2 separate regions of the Homo sapiens genome follow, and region 1 is linked to region 2. The links are contacts of gene promoters, found by promoter capture Hi-C in human tissues and cell types (Jung and others, 2019). All regions are on one chromosome and are shown on one strand. Each heading gives the region's core, a stretch centred on a gene start or on the middle of the fragment in contact. The rest is flanking DNA. Distances are from core to core; before and after follow the strand shown. Region 1 overlaps CHST6 (carbohydrate sulfotransferase 6). Region 2 holds the start of CTRB1 (chymotrypsinogen B1).

What was found. The method cuts DNA at HindIII sites, captures the fragments that hold promoters and counts their contacts. A contact is called where the count stands out against the background at its distance.
Region 1: a contact is called between a fragment that was not itself captured here and the fragment with the promoter of CTRB1 in region 2, in 3 of the 25 tissues and cell types used here (lymphoblastoid cells, mesenchymal stem cells and stomach).

What each region holds. Positions count from the first base shown.
Region 1 is chr16:75,469,048-75,474,066 of GRCh38, reverse strand. It overlaps CHST6 (carbohydrate sulfotransferase 6), which reads left to right. Exons shown (of 3, transcript NM_021615.5): 3 at 1-2,015. Among named protein-coding and RNA genes, the nearest start is that of TMEM170A, 6.9 kb to the right of the region's middle. RefSeq lists an enhancer at 1,776-2,418. The HindIII fragment of the contact is 5,677 bases long and covers 7-5,019 here.
Region 2 is chr16:75,214,980-75,220,599 of GRCh38, reverse strand. CTRB1 (chymotrypsinogen B1) reads right to left here and starts at 1,612. Exons shown (of 7, transcript NM_001906.6): 1 at 1,541-1,612. The coding sequence starts at 1,592. RefSeq lists an enhancer at 1,995-2,074. The HindIII fragment of the contact is 13,252 bases long and covers 118-5,620 here.

The DNA.
Region 1 (5,019 bases), core at 1,596-4,095, 250 kb before region 2:
AGTAGCTGGGATTACAGATGTACACCACCACGCCCGGCTAATTTTTTTTGTATTTTTAGTAGAGATGGGGTTTCACCATGTCGATCAGGCTGGGCTGGAACTCCTGACCTCAGGTGATCCACCTGCCTTGGCCTCCCAATGTGCTAGGATTACAGGCATGAGCCACTGTACCTGGCGAAAAACAGTTTGTTAACACAGGCAGCCAACATCACTCAGGATAAGCCTCAATGAAAAGTAACAAAGTGATGGCTTGGAACACTGTCTTACACAGCATTTTTAAAAAATACAATAAATTTGTAGAGATAGGATGACCAAGGACAACAGTTTTAGGCTTCCAAAGGTGGTAAACTATGGGATGGTAAATATCCGAGAGGAAGCTGATGCAACAGGATTTGTCTGCAGCAGCCTCTGGTACCACCTCTGAGTCAAGGGTTGTGTCCAGTGATGGAGAGTTTATATCGTGCCTTTAGGCAGAAAAGGGGAGGGAAACCTGAACTTTTCCTGCACTTTCTGCTTCTTAATTGCCTTCAGCTGAAAATCATTTTTTATGTGAAAAAGGCATAGTCTGAGCTGACGCCTCTGCTTTCCTCCACCTGAAGAGAACCTGCGTGCTGCTCCTTTGCTTCGGACCTCCGCCTCTGCCCGGGAGAAAGCCCAGGCCAGCCTGCTGGACAAGCAGAGACCATGAGAAGGAGAGTTCAGGGGTCCCAAACCAGGCCATCCTAGACCAGCCAGCTCCAGCTGATCCGCACGCAGCCACTTCGGCTACCTTCTACTGGCCAAAGGGAGTCCCAGGGCTCACCCAGATTCAGAGGTGGGGAAACTGAGTCCACCACTTGAGAAGAGTAGCTATAAAGACATATGAGCGAGGCCAGCTGAGCCCAGCACTGCGGCCAAGTCGAAGACTTTAGGAGCAATAAAAGTGCTTATTGTGTTTCAGTCATTTGAGTGTTGTGGTGGTTTGTTACGTAGCATTGCCTAACCGATACACTTGAGAACGGAGGGCTCCTGGCACCTGCAGCTTCCAATTTCCACCAGGGTCCAGGCTCCCTCCCTGCTGGTAGGGCTGTAATTAGTGTCTCCCCTTACCTGTAGGCCCTGTGATGCAGCTAGAAGTGTCTAGGCCCAGCAGTCACCCACAATTAGGGGCAGGCACGCTTGCTGCCTCTGCTCTGGCTGTGGGAGCTCAGAAGGGGCAATCAAAGCACTAGATGGGCTGATGGGTGCATAGAAACAGTGTTGCCTGGAATAGGTCAGAGAACCCACCTATCAAGAGGCTGTTGGGGAATCAATGGTGGGCCTTATTTTTGTTATTTTGCATCAAGAAGATATATTATCCACATCAACACTGTATCAACTCCTCATGGCCACCACAGACCCTGTGTCCCCTAGCTTTGTCTTTGATGTGCCTTTGTCACCCACTCCTACAGACTGCGCCCCACCACTGCCACAACTGCCCCATCACCTCTACAGGGTTAAATCAATGGTTTTAATTTTTGCCTACCTGATGGGTGAAAAATGTTACTTGATGTTTCAGTCTGCACTTCTTTAATTCCTGGGGCAGCTGAACATCTTTTCATGCTTATGACTCAACTGTATTCCTTTTTCATTGTTCAAGGCTGTGCCCATGTTGCTGTTGACTTACCACAGCCTCTTTTGAATATGCTTTGTTATTTTTGTTGTGCAAATGGTTTCTCCTAGCTTGTCATCTGTTTTTTGTTGTTGTTGTTTTGTTAACTTACTTTATGGCATTTTCCCCTCAGGCTTCTTAAAAAAAAAGAAGCTTCATTGAGCTATAATTGATATACAACATCTGCACATAAAGTGTAAAGTTTGATTAAACATTTGTATATACCTGTGAAATCAAATCACCACCTCATCACAATCAAATTTCAAAAAGTTTCACCTAGTTTATCATATTGTTGAATGTGAATCCTTTCCTTATGGCCAGTGGATTTTATGTCTTGTTGAAACGACTTTGTCCTGCTACAGTGATAAAAATGGTCTTCACGCTTGCTTCCAGTACTTTAGTAGTCTAGTGTTTTACGCTTGGATCTAAATTGCATGCAATATTCCTGATCGGTGCGAGTCATCAGTTCTCCCAGCGCCCTCTACTGAATGATCTCACTCATCACACACTGAAACCACCATGGGCTGGAATCTGTCCCTCACCCACAGGCCCACTCCACACCAGTGGATCAGGCGAGCAATTTCTTTAGGTCGAGTGACCCCTATGCTGAGGTCCAGTGGGTTATCCCGACTACCTTCACAAGTTAATGGATTTAGATTTAAGCACCACCTGCCCCCAGCAGATTCTCTTACAATTTAAATATCCTCTCACAGTGCAAATCCTTATTCTGTGAATGACTCTATTCAGACCATGTTCCTTAAGAACCAGAGCTAGGCTGGGTGCAGCTGTAATGCTAGCAATTTGGGAGGCCAAGGTGGGCAGATTGCGTGAGCTCAGGAGTTCGAGACCAGCCTGGGCAACTTGGCGAAACCCTGTCCCTACTAAAAAAAATACAAAAACGTAGCCAAGCGTGGTGGTATGTGCCTGAAATTCCAGCTACTTGGGAGGCTGAGGCATGAGAATTGCTTGAACCCAGGAGGTAGAGGTTGCAGTGAGCCAAGATCGCCCCACTGCACTCCAGCCTGGGTAATAGAGCGAGACTCTGTCTCAAACAAACAAAAAACGAAAGAACCAGAGCTAAAGTCTTGATGAAATGGAAAGGATTGGCCTACTATCCATTTTTCCAAGATGGCAATTCATTCCAGCCAATCGAGCATTTTCTCCTTTGGGAGTAAGACCAGAAAACCTGGCCTGTCCTGCAAGTCTTGTGTTATTCTGCTCCCAGTCCTCAAGAACTCCACTCATTCATTCAACACACATTATGGGTTGAGCACCAACCAGGCACTGGGCTATTATAGGAGCTGGAGATACAGCAGGACCAAAAACAGACAAAAAGCAAAAACCCCTGCCCTAGGCTGGGTGCAGTGGTTCACACCTCTAATCTCAGCCCTTAGTGAGGCCGAGGCAGGTGGATCACCTGAGGTCAGGAGTTCAAGACCAGCCTGACCCATATGGTGAAACCCAGTCTCTACTAAAAATATAAAAATTAGCTGGGCATCGTGGCATGCACCTGTAGTCCCAGCTACTCAGGAGGCTGAGGCAGGAGAATTGCTTGAACCCGGGAGGCGGAGGTTGAATTGAGCCGAGATGGCGCCAAAGGACTCCAACCTGGGCGACAGAGCGAGACTCCATCTCAAAAACAAACAAAACAAAACAAAACAAAACAAAAACCAGCCAGGCGCAGTGGCTCACGCCTGTAATCCCAGCACTTTGGGAGGCCGAGGCAGGCAGATCATGAGGTCAGGAGTTCGAGACCAGCCTGGCCAACATGGTGAAACCCCATCTCTACTAAAAATACAAAAATTAGCCAGGCGTGGTGGTGGTGGTGCACGCTTGTAATCCCAGCTAATCAGGAGGCTGAGGCAGGAGAATCGCTTAAACCTGGGAGGCGGAGGTTGCAGTGAGCTGAGATCGCGCCACTGCACTCCAGCCTGGGCGATAGAGTGTGACTCTCTCAAACAACAACAACAACAACCCTGCCCTTCAGGAACTTGCATTCTGATGGTGGGGAGATAGCTGATGAATAAGCTTAATAAATGGCTACATTATTTAGCATATTAGAAAGTGCCAAGGATTAAAGTAGAGAAGGATCGGGGGATGAGGAATATATGTGTGTAGAGGTGTGAGTTGTAATTTTTAATGGGGTGATCAGGGTAGGTCTCAGTGAGAAAGCGACATTTGAGGAAAGTCTTACAGGAGGTGAGGGAGTATGTTAAGGGCAATCATGGGTAGCCTGTCTGGGAGCAGGAAAGAGCTAACACAAAAGCCCTAAGGAGGGGAGGCATCTGGCTTGTTGAAAGAGCAGCAAGGGGCCAGGGGGTCTGGTGTGCTGGACCGCCTCCTTGGCTTCCTTAGACAGGGCCCAGGAAACCTCCATTTTCTGAGTCCTGCAAGGCTAAATGTCTTTTTTTAACCTGTCAATTCATAAATGAACTAAAGATCGAATTCTAAATTCAAAATAATGTTTCCTAATGTAATACATAATTGATTATGTAACCCTACAATAATTGATTTCTTCCACTTTTTTTTTTTTTTTTTTTTGAGACGGAGTCTCGCTCTGTTGCCCAGGCTGGAGTGCAGTGGCGCGATCTCTGCTCACTGCAAGCTCCACCTCCCGGGTTCACGCCATTCTCCTGCCTCAGCCTCTCCGGTAGCTGGGATTACAGGCGCCCACCACCACGCCCAGCTGATTTTTTTTTTTTTTTTTTTTTTTTGAGACAGAGTCTCATTTTGTTGCCCAGACTGGAGTGCAATGGCACGATCTCGGCTCCTGCAACCTCTGCCTCCCGGGTTCAAGTAATTCTCCTGTCTCAGCCTCCCAAGTAGCTGGGATTACAGGCGCATGCCACCAGGCCCGGCTAATTTTTGTATTTTTAGTAGAGATGGGGTTTCACCATGTTGGTCAGGCTGTTCTGGAACTCCTGACCTCGTGATCTGCCTGCCTCGGCCTCCCAAAGTGCTGGGATTACAGGTGTGACCTACCACACCTGGCCCTTTTTCTTTTTTTTTTTTTTTTTTTGAGACAGAGTCTTGCTCTGTCGCCCAGGTTGGAGTGCAATGGTGCGATCTCGGCTCACCGCAACCTCCACCTCCCAGGTTCAAGCAATTCTCCTGCCTCAGCCTCCTGAGTAGCTGGGATTACAGGCACATGCCACCATGCCCGGCTAATTTTTGTATTTTTAGTAAAGACGGGGTTTCACCATGTTGGTCAGGTTGGTCTCAAACTCCTGACCTCGTGATCCACCCGCCGCAGCCTCCCAAAGTGCTGGGATTACAGGCATGAGCCACCACGCCCAGCGGTTTCTTCCACTTCTAATAGACTCTGCTAGTCTGGGAAATGTACCAAAAAGACAGCATGGTTAAAAGGTCAGTATTTCCTGACCCTTTTT
Region 2 (5,620 bases), core at 363-2,862:
ACATCAGCCAGGCACAGTGGCTCACACCTGTAATCCAGCACCCTGGGAGGTTGAGGTGAGCAGATCACTCGAGCACAGGATTTCGAGACCAGCCTGGACAACATAATAAGACCCCAGGTCGGGCATGGGGGCTCACGCCTGTAATCCCATCACTTTGGGAGGCTGAGGTGGGCGGATCACTGGAGGTTAGGAGTTCAAGACCAGCCTGACCAATATGGTGAAACCCCATCTCTATTAAAAATACAAAAATTAGCCAGGTGTGGTGATGCATGCCTGTAATCCCAGCTACTCAGTAGGCTGAGGCAGGAGAAATGCTTGAACCCAGGAGGCGGAGGTTGCAGTGAGCCAAGATCACGCCACTGCACTCCAGCCTGGGTGACAAGAGTGAAACTCTGTCTCAAAGAAAAGAAAAAAAAATAACAAAAAAAACCTCCATCTCTACAAAACAAAACAAGTTTTTAAACTTAGCGTGCCTGTAGCGCCAGCTACTCGGGAGGCTATAGTGGGAGGATCACTCGAGCCCTTGAGTTTGAGGCTGCAAACTCACACTACTGCACTCCAGCCTGGGTGACAGAGTGAGACCCTGTCTCAAAACCAAAACCAAAACCAAAACCAAAAACAGGATAGAATACCGTTCCATTGATGTAACCTTTTTGAAACCTTATGTATAGATGTATAAAAATATGTAGTACAATTGTATAAGCTCACACTGCAATTATTCATAGAAAGTTCAGAATCAAGCTCACATTCCAGAGAGGGAAGGAGGGAGAAAAGGGAAGCCTGAGTACAATCTGTTTTAGAAATATCTGAAGCAAATGTGCAAAAAGATTTGCTGAATTCTGACAGTAGATACAAGGATGTCATATTCTTTTCTGTATTTTCTTTTACTATTTCTCTTTTAAAAAATAGAAAACACGGCTGGGCACAGTAGCTCATGCCTGTAATCCCAGCACTTTGGGAGGCCGAGGCGGGGGCATCACCTGAGGTCAGGAGTTCAAGACCAGCCTGGCCAACGTGGTGAAAGCCCGTCTCTACTAAAAATTAGCCAGGGTTGGTGGTCCATGCCTGTAGTCCCAGCTGCTCGGGAAGCTGAGGCAGGAAGATCATTTGAACCCAGGAGATGGAGGTTGCAGTAAGTGGAGATTGCACCATTGCACTCCAGCCTCGGCAATAGGAGTGAAATTCTGTCTCGAAAAAAAAAAAAGAAAGAAAGGAAGAAAATGCTTGACAAGTACCCAGCACAATAAAAACCCCGGTGGAGGCCTTGGGAGGTCTCCTGGGGCCACACCTTACCCTGCACAAGGCACCCCCACCCCAGCCACTTCTGGAGCCTCAGACCATGGCAGAGACCAGCATCGTCCTTCCCACTCCTGGAGCAGGTTGTGTGGGCTCAGAAAGCCCCAGAATGCACCCTCTCCTGAGCCCTCAGGTTACCTGTGCTGGGGATGAGGCCCCAGGGGGCAGAGCAGGGGACTCAGATCCCCCTCTCAGCCAGGCTCAGGGCTCCCTCAGGACAGACCCCTCGGGCACCAGCACTCACCAAAGGCGGCCCCCACAAGGGAGAAGCAGGAGAGGAGCCAGAGGGAAGCCATGCCGCTGCCTCAGAAGGTGTGGGGCCTGCCAGCTGCGGGGCCCCTTTTACCACCTTGGGGGGGCAGGGAGCCCAGCCCCCCCCGCTCCCCCAGCCAGGGAGGCCTGAGCCCACCCTCCCTGTTACCCAGGGACCTTGGGCAATAAGTGGAGACAGAGCCCCGCCTGGCTCTCTACCAGACAACCCCAGTCCCTGGGAAAGGGGCAGCTGCGCTGACATCACCGGTCAGCCTTGGGGACATGATCCCACAGAGCCAGCTGTGAGCTGCAGTATCCCTGCCAGGAGACGGCACCAGGCTCTTCTGTTCCCAGAGGGGAAGTGGAGGCAGTTCCACCCCAGGGCTCGTGGAGGACCAGCTGCTGTCATGGAACCAGGTCTCCGGGAACTCAGGCTCTCAGTGAAGGGTGTTTCCGCCTAACACTGTCCTAGAAGCAAAGGGTGACTCAGGGCATCGTGGATTCTCCAGAGTGTCACTGCAAGTCACCAGTGAAGCCAAGCCACTTCTGACTGTGGCGAGGGTCTGGGTGACAAGGACCAACCCGCTGGTGGCCGTAACAGGTGGGCAAAGCCACTGACACGCGTCCCACCTGTGCTGTAGAACCCAACAGAATTCACTTTTTCTGCAATGACTCATGATATAAGGAACTAATCATTTCATAAAGTTTCAGTTTCTTACAAAATGGAACTTGGATTCCGCACCATAAAATGACACAGAAAACAAACTTTTTAAGATGGAGTCTCACTCTGTCACCCAGGCCGGAGTGCAGTGGCGCAATTTCAGCTCACTGCAGCCTCCTCTTCCCGGGTTCAACTGATTCTCCTGCCTCAGCCTCCCAAGTAGCTGGGATTACAGGTGCCCACCACACCCAGCTATTTTTTTTTTTTTTTGAGATGGGGTCTTGCTCTGCTGCCTAGGCTGGAGTGCAGTGGCACAATCTTGGCTCACTGCAGCCTCCACCTCCCAGGTTCAAGCAATTCTCCCACCTCAGCCTCTTGAGTAGCTGGGATTACAGGCATAGCACCAAACCTGGCTAATTTTTATATTTTTAGTAGAGACGGGGTTTCACCATGTTGGCCAGGCTGGTCCCAAACTCCTGATCTCGGGTGATCCACCTTCCTCGGCCTCCCAAAGTGCTGGGATTACAGGCGTTAGCCACCGCACTTGGCCAATTGTTGTATTTTTAGTAGAGACAGGGTTTTACCACGTTGGCCAGGCTCCTCTTGAGCTCCCGGCCTCAGGTGATCCTGTGGCCTTGGCCTCCTAAAGTGCTGAAATTACAGGCGTGAGTCACTGCGCCTGTCTGAAAATAAATTTTGAGGAAGCAGAAAAACTTTTTTCATTGTCACAAAACAAGGAGGAAAGACAGGTGTGGGTGACAGGTCGGTGACTGGGCAGAAAGTGAAGGCCAAGGGATCCTCAGCACCCTGTGGGCAGATATTCAGGGGACAGAGCCCGCAGCATCCCTGCCCTTATGGGCCTGAGACGCTCATGACAGACACACACGACACAGATGAGCATGTAATATAGTGACCACAGTCACCTGGGGCAAGGCTGGACAGGACAGGCTGTACTGCATTTCCGGACGATGAGGGTATGAAAGTAAGACACAGTGGGTGGATGGTGTTTCCATGGAAGGCCTTGGGCTCTGTGGTCAGCGGGCCAGGTCACCTTGGCATTTAGAATATCCCCTCCCCACTCCCACCGCTGCTGGAGAATGCACAACTATAAAGCAAAACTAAACTTATATACTAAAGAGAAAATTTCAAAAGTTCACATCACCATGTTACCCTTTTTTTTTCTTTTTCCCCTGAGACAGAGTCTTGCTCTGTCGCCTAGGCTGGAGTGCAGGGGTGTGACCTCAGCTCACTGCAACCTTTGCCTCCCAGGTTGAAGCGATTCTCCTGCCTCAGTCCCCCCAAGTAGCTGGGATTACAGGCGTCTGCCACCATGCCCAGCTAATTTTTGTATTTTTAGTAGAGATGGGGTTTTGCCATGTTGGCCAGGATGATCTCCAACTCCTGACCTCAAGCGATCCAGCCACCTCGGCCTCCGAAAGTGCTGGGATTACAGGCGTGAGCCAGCACACCAGGCTGATAGCTACAATTTAAAGAAACAGAAAATAACAAGTGTGGGATGTGGAAAAACTGGAACCCTCATACATTGCTGCTGGGAATGTAAAATGGTGAAGCTGCTATGCAAACAGTTCGGCATGGCTGGGCACAGTGGCTCACGCCTGGAATCTTGGCACTGTGGGAGGCCAAGGTGGGAGGATCACTTAAGCCAAGGAGTCCAACACCAGCCTGGGCAACAAAGTGAGACCCCATCTCTACAAAAAAATTTAAAAAAAACAACATTAGCTGGGCATGGTGGCGTGGTGGCATAGTCCCGGCTACTCAAGAGGATGAAGTAGGAGGATAACTTGAGCCTGGGAGATCGAGGCTGCAGTGAGCCGAGATCCAGCCTAGGCAGCGGAGCAAGGCCTTGTCTCAAAAAAAAGAGTAAAAAGAAGTGCAAAGAAAACAGTTTGGCAATTCCACAAAATAAACAGAGTTACCTCATGACCTGACAATTCCACTCCCCCTAAATAAAAGGACTTAAGCAGACACTCGCACACCAGTGTTCACAGCAGCACTATTCCCAACAGCCAAAAGACAGAAATCACCCCTGTTGTTCATCAGCAGAGGAATGAGTAAGACATGAGCTCTCCACAGGACTATTATTCAGTCATAAGAAGGAATGAAGCAGGCCTGGTGTGGGGGCTCACACCTGTAATCCCTGCACTGTGGGAGGCCAGGAGTTTGAGGACCAGCCTTGGCAACAAACACCCCGTCTCTACAAAAATTTTTTTCTTAAATCAGCTGGGTGTGGTGGTATGTGCCTGTGGTCCCAGCTACATGGGAGTCTGAGGCAGGAAGATCGCTTGAGCGCAGGTGGTCAAGGCTGAAGTGAGCTGTGTCTGTGCCACTGCATTCCAGCCTGGGCAACAGGGCGAGACCCTGTCTCAAACACAAACACAAAAACAAAACAAAATGAATCAGGTACTGATATACGCCAAAAGATGGATTTTTTTTTTTTGAGACAGAGTTTTGCTCTTGTTGCCCAGGCTGGAGTGCAGTGGTGCAATCTTGGCTCCCTGCAACCTCCGGCTCCCGGGTTCAAACAATTCTCCTGCCTCAGCCTCCGGAGCAGCTGGGATTACAGGGATCTGCCACCACACCCACCTAATTTTGTATTTTTAGTAGAGACGGGTTTCACCATGTTGGCCAGGATGGTCTCAAAATCTCTTGACTTTGTGAACCACCCGCCTCGGCCTCCCAAAATGCTGGGATTACAGGCGTGAGCCACCACACCCAGCCGAATCTAAAATGATGTCTGCTACCTGAAAATAAGCAATACAAAGACAATTATTGCATGATTCCATTTATATGAAACCTTTTTTTGAAAAACTTTTTTGTGAGCCACCACGCCTGGCTGACTTGGAGTGTCTCATCTTTATTTACTTTATTCTTGAAACAGAGTCTCACTCTGTCGCCCAGGCTGGAGTGCAGTGGCATGATCTCGGCTCAACTGCAACCTCCACCTCCCAGATTCACCCCATTCTCCTGCCTCAGCCTCCTGAGTAGCTGGGATTACAGGCATGCGCCACCACACCCAGCTAATAAATGAAACTTTATTTTTATTTATTTATTTTTGAGACAGAGTCTCGCTCTGTCGCCTAGGCTGGAGGGCAGTGGCATCATCTCGGTTCACTGCAAGCTCTGCCTCCCAGGTTCACGCCATTCTCCTGCCTCAGCCTCCCAAGTAGCTGGGACTACAGGCGCCCACCACCACGCCCGGCTAATTTTTTGTGTTTTTAGTAGAGACGGGGTTTCACCATGTTAGCCAAGATGGTCTCGATCTCCTGACCTCGTGATCTGCCCGCCTCAGCCTCCCAAAGTGCTGGGATTACAGGCATGAGCCACCACACCCGGCCATGAAACATTCTTAATAGGCAAATTCATAAAGACAAAAACTAGGTTAGAGGCCCA